2 separate regions of the Homo sapiens genome follow, and region 2 is linked to region 1. The links are contacts of gene promoters, found by promoter capture Hi-C in human tissues and cell types (Jung and others, 2019). All regions are on one chromosome and are shown on one strand. Each heading gives the region's core, a stretch centred on a gene start or on the middle of the fragment in contact. The rest is flanking DNA. Distances are from core to core; before and after follow the strand shown.

Region 1 (2,898 bases), core at 148-2,647:
CGGCAACGTTCCCAGGATTTCAAATCTCATGAGTCCAGAATCCGTGAAAATCCTGTTTAAAATCATCCGGTGAAATTGGCTTTGGGACGTCTCCCCAGCTACTGGATCATGTGGCTTCTGAATCTTTCTAACAATCGTCCCGTTGGATGTCCCCTGAGGACAGAGCAGCTGGCTAGAGTCCCCAGACCAGACTTCTCTAAGTGAATGTAGATGTGCAGGTGGAGAGGATAAAAGTAATTCTGGCTCAGCAGCCACGAATTCCCTCCACCTCCGCCCCACAAGTGCGCTGCATATCGCCGGCTCAGCTGGGACGCTACAGAGCCCAGACCACGCGGACGCTGCCCCCTCCCCGGGGACTCAAAGTGTGGCCGGCGCCCGCCTCCCAGTGATGCCATCTTTCTTGGGGTCTTAGCATCTTACCAGTGGGTAGTGAGTTTTGCATTCGAATCACGTCCCTCTGTCTGAAAACTTACCCCAACTTTGCAAACAGATGAGAACCTGCTAGTGGGAACCCTTAATTTTCTGTATCTAGAACTGACAAAATCAGACGCAATTCACAAGAAACCCACGACCTCGCGCTCCCTTGCTCCCAGCGTCCGCTCGCGGGCACCCTGGGTTTCCCGCTCGCCTGGGCGCAAGGTCAGACGCCCCGCGGCGACCTCGGCCCAGAGCCGCCCAGACACTGTCAGCCAGCGCCCCGTGGGGGGCTGGAGGGTGGGGGCAGGCTGGTCCAGGCAGGAAGGGTAGAGGAACCCGAGCAACTTACAGCCCAGGGCGACCACCAGGTAGCGCAGCAGCAGCAGGAGGAGGCGGTGGCGGCTCCTCCTCGCCATCTTCCCGGGGCGGCAGCCGGCTGCTCTGAGGAGGTCGAGGGTCCCGGCGGCAGGAGCGCAGGAGGCCGGGGGCCCTTGAACTTCTGGGGCGGGAAAGGAGCAGAGAGTCGGGAGGGGAGGAAGAGGAGGGACGGCTCTAGATGGGATGTCAGTTTCCCCCTCCCCGGGGCGCCTTCTCAGCTGGCTGCCAAGAGGCGGGTCCTCCAGCCCAGGGATGGGGGTCTGTTCTGTTTTGGGGGTGTGGGGGTAGGGGCTAGAGGGCGTGAAAACCAGACGAGGCGTCCGCCGGGTCCTAGCGAGGGGGCAGCAGGAGGAGAGCAGCGCCCGGGAAAGCCCCGGCGGGTCGTCCCTCCGCCCCCACGCCTCCGGGATTGATCGGCTTTGTGTCTGGTCCGCGCGGGGCTGCCAGCTGTCCCCAGGGCGAGGAGCTGGGGGCGGGAGGCGCGGGCAGGCTGGGGGTGGGGGGATTGGGTGTCTCGGGGACGGGGATGTATGCGGGTAGGGAAACGCCTCCTGTTTTGCCCCAACTCCTTTCTTCCCCTCGTTGGCTCAAAACTTCTTTCTGGCTTTTCAGCCTAGGGGTGGAGATATTTGGAAAATTCTGCCCAACGGGCGAAGCTGAGGGGGTGGCGCTCTGAGGAGATGGGGTTCGCGGGCTCCGCCTCGAACTCGAGAAAAAAAAAAGCAATCAAGACTCGTGCTGGAAGTCAGGTCTCAGATTTTAGTACAGCCTTGGTCCCTTCTCAGTTTAAGCTTTTTGCTCCTTGGAGATTTGAGGTGCATTTGTCTCGCGTTCTTGTTCTTTGCTTTTTTTTCAGTGTCAGAGTTGGAAGTTCATCTAATGGTGTGAAATATTTATCATGTTTCTTTCAAGTTACATAACTGCTGCTTGTGGAGTTTTCCACGTGTTAAAACTCTACAGCTGCCCTTTGTCAGGTTTATTTTTGGTCTACTGTGCTTTTAAAAGGGAAACCCATTATGAATGCTCTGTTGCGTGCTTTAAAATTGCACCACACTTACATTGGACGCACGTACACTGGCAATTTTTATATTTGTTCCTAGGGACCAAAAATGTATGGTGTATTCAAGAGTATTGGCAGGTCTGGAAAAAGGCCATTCCCAGGAGAAGAAATTAGTATACATCAGTTTTTTTCTTTTGTTTTTTTGTTTGTTTTTGTTTTTGTTTTTTTTTAAAGGTTGAATAATGGATGAAGTTCTGTACAGCAGATAGTTGATTTAGTGGTGTATTTAAAAAGAATTCAGCTAGCTCAGTGGACAAAGGCGACCAGAGTTTAGCTGTGCAGAACTGTGAGGAATGAGGCATCCTTGCTGTTGCCGTGGTGACAGTGATGAAAACTTAGTACCCAGGGAGGGGGTGGGAGGAGAGGACCCAGGGGACCCAGAAAGGAAAGTCAAAATGGCAAAATGTTAAAACTCGTACTCCAGTCAACCGAGGAGAAGGGGCACAGATTTAACAACAGCTTATGCCAGTTTTTCTGGGCAGTAATGAGAAGGATTTGATGCTTAAAAAGAAAAGTTGTTGGCATCTTCTTTTTTCTAATTCTTGCTACAGCTATATGTCTTTTACTCCTCCCTAAAAATATACACAAAAATGTCATACTTAAAAAAATTCTATGCAATCCTATGTGAGTAACTGACTAAGTTATTTATTTGCCACCCAGCCAAGGCATTTGACAAATGGCAACAATGTGCTGGATGCTGAAGGACAACCATGAACAAGATAGAGGCTTTCTTGCTAACAAGCTCACAGTCTTGAGGGGAGACAGAGTCTTATCAGGAAAGATGCCTGATACCACATGGTAAATGTTACAGGAGGACAGAAAATAATAACAGCTATTTTTATTGCATGCTTTCTCAGTGATGGAGTCTGAATAACGCAATATCTAATCCCCCAACAACTCCATAAAAGAGGAAATGTTATCATTCCCACTTTGCAGATGAGAAAACTGGGCGGAGAGACACTAAATGGCTTGTCCAAGGTCCATGATAAGGGGCTGTTCCTTTTGTTGGGAGTGGGGCCAGGGCTTTCTTTATTAAACCTTGA
Region 2 (2,898 bases), core at 207-2,706, 51 kb before region 1:
CAGATATTTTAAATTTTCTATAAACTTCAAACATTTTCACTTAATTCTTTAACATTAAAGAAATACATAGTATTTTAAAATCATAACATGTTTATTTTAACTTGTAAAATTGTATTTCCAGCTTTAGAAATATTTATAATGGAAAGATTCAAGCATACACAACATTAGAAAGTGAAGTGAATTGTACCTCAATGTATCATTGACCAGCTATAATAGTAATCAATGCATGGTTTATCTTGTTTCATCTGTATCATTAACCACTGGTTTATTTTGAAGCAAATGGACATTATAACAGTTCATCCATCATTATCAATATTTTAAATTATAAGTTCATCACATATTCAATGGCAAGAGTAGGTAGTAGAAAGAAATGTATAACAAAAGAAAAAAAAGAAAAGAAAGCACTTGATAATGGTTGCTGTCATAACCCACCCATAAGTCTTAACTCCCTGAGCTTCTCAGTGGTGGCCTACCTTTCAAATGGAGTTAAGGAAATAGGGTGACAGCATTATGACTGAGAAGCAACCTTCCATTTCCAAACCACACCATTTTTTAATTCCTTTCCCTCAGGAGTTTATCTATAGCCAGGCAAGTGGCTCACACCTGTAATTCCAGTACTTTTGGAGACCGAGGCAGGAGGATGGGTTGAGCCCAGGAGTTCAAGACCAGCCTGGGCAACATAGGGAGACCTCACCTCATCTCTACAAAAAAATAAATAAATAAATAAAATTAAATTAGCTGAGCATACTGGTGTGCACCTGTAGTCCCACCTACTTGGGGACTGAGATGGGAGGATAACTTGAGCCCTGGAGGTGGAGGCTGCAGTGAGCCATGATCATACCACTGTGCTCCAGACTGGGCAAGAGAACAAAATCTTGAAAAAAGAAAGAAAGGCAAGAAAGGGAAGGAAGGAAGGAAGGAAGAGAAAGAAAGAAATAAAGAGAAAGAAAGAAAGAAGAGAAAGGAAGGAAGGAACGGAGTTTAATCTACTGAGCCAATAAGAGCAATTGCATTTTGCATACTTTATGCCTGAGTTGAGAGAGAAGAGTCCAGGGATTCAGTGGGCTTCACCTCCCTCTGTTCTCTGCTTTTGTGGCTATTGTGTTTTATGTCTCAGACATGGTTGCTTTCATCTCACACTTACAAAAACACATTTTCAGTAATCAGTCATGTCCGATCTCATTTGCCAATTAAAGGATCCTGGTTGTACTTGGCATTCTCTTGCTCACACCTCTTCAAGCCTACAGCTGCTTACCTTGAAGAGTCTGTTGATAGTAGACAAAGGAGACACTCCGACCCAGTTTCTTCCACTCTAATCTGGAGGAAACAGTCTTCTTTGGGGTTTTGCAGGCTAAAATAGCCTCTAGGAACAACAATAAAAATACTTGTTTTCTAATTGTCCCCATGAATTTATATTTTACTTAACTAGGTAACAAAATTGTAAACAACTTTAAATTACTCCTTTATAGTTTTATTCATTCATTCATTCATAAATTACATCAACAGGTCCCATGAATTGGAAGCCTTCTAGCTCTTCCACATAGTAACTGTATGACACTGTGCTTATTTCCCTGGTTATCAAGTTTGAGTTTTCATCTGTAAATGGGCTAGTATTTCACAGAGTTGTTGTGAGTCTTCAAATGCAATAAGATATGCAAAGCACACAGGCTTGGACATAGTAAGGACTTAACAAATGGCAGCTATGATTAACTATGTGTCTTATTATTCCCAGTGTCAGTCTTGAAGGAGTCTACCATCTGGTAGAAGAGGCAACTAAGATAATGGCGTTTCAGCCCAGTGTTGCTGAATACCAGCTATGCAGATGGTGATTCATGCTTAGTACCCAAGAAAGGCACTGAATCCAGCCAGGGACATGCTGGGAAACTCAGAAAAGTTTCCACAACATGCTATATTCTCACTCAGATCCCTTCTTTGTCAACCTTCTCTACAAATACATTAATACCTATCCAATATGGTCTCCTAATAAATCATTGATTTTTACCCCCAAACAACTGCCTATATAACCTTGCCTCAGTCCAGATAATTATTAAAGTATTAAATCTTAGCATCAAGTGTAACTGCCTCAATGTAGCTAAGTTCTTTTATTACAAGAAATTTACTGCAATTGTGTCATTAATACTTGGAGCCTCCAAAGGAACCCCCTTCTTTTCACTGTCCAAACGAGATGTCTGAGAGAAAAAAAAAAAAACAAAAAACCCAGTGCCAGTCTGGGAACTGCCTCAAGTTGCCAAATGGAAACCTCCAGTTATAAATATTTTTAAAAGTATTTTTTTAACCAGGCTCTCTAGAATGTCAATTCCATGTTTCTGAAATACTTTTTTCCCCACAAGGCATATGGTTTGACCTAAAAAAGCACAGTATCTTTGACCAGAAATTATTTTAAAATCCTTTTCATACCTTTGATTTTAATGTTAAGCAAATGAATGTTAAAAAAGAATGCAGAATATTTAGTTTCTAATTTTTTTCATTCCACACATATTGCTGGACATACAAAAATGGAATAAAAGGTAATGGAAAATAGAAAGTAGGGCAGAGAAAAGAAAGGCAAGGAAGAAAAGAACCAAAAGTTGTTTTCAAGAATGTCTAAAGTTTTTAAAGCAGGTTTTACATTACAAAGAGACATCATTTTACAGACATGTTTACAATTATGCTACAAAGACAAACGTGTGCTAAGGGACCTGTCTGAGGAAACACAGTTCTTTTCTGTTGATTAAGGAGAATGGGTGGTGACCTTCCGGAGTCTTGAGTTGTAGATAGGTTTCCTTCCGGTATTTTGTGAGTTTCCAACAATTAAACACACACCCACACTCATTTTTAGCCTATTCCTCATGTCTTCTGTGTCTTAAGAGTAATTTTACACTTAAATAATTGCATTGT

The links. Contacts are between HindIII fragments. The study calls those that stand out against the background at their distance.
Region 2: a fragment that was not itself captured here is called in contact with the fragment with the promoter of JAM2 in region 1 in 3 of the 25 tissues and cell types used here (dorsolateral prefrontal cortex, lymphoblastoid cells and mesenchymal stem cells).

Annotation. Positions count from the first base shown.
Region 1 is chr21:25,637,757-25,640,654 of GRCh38, reverse strand. JAM2 (junctional adhesion molecule 2) reads right to left here and starts at 1,397. Exons shown (of 10, transcript NM_021219.4): 1 at 767-1,397. The coding sequence starts at 833. RefSeq lists enhancers at 415-484, 387-887, 1,625-1,764 and a silencer at 1,215-1,404. The HindIII fragment of the contact is 5,846 bases long and covers 396-2,898 here.
Region 2 is chr21:25,688,331-25,691,228 of GRCh38, reverse strand. JAM2 (junctional adhesion molecule 2) reads right to left here. Exons shown (of 10, transcript NM_021219.4): 3 at 1,256-1,363. Among named protein-coding and RNA genes, the nearest start is that of ATP5PF, 45 kb to the left of the region's middle. The HindIII fragment of the contact is 7,820 bases long and covers 1-2,898 here.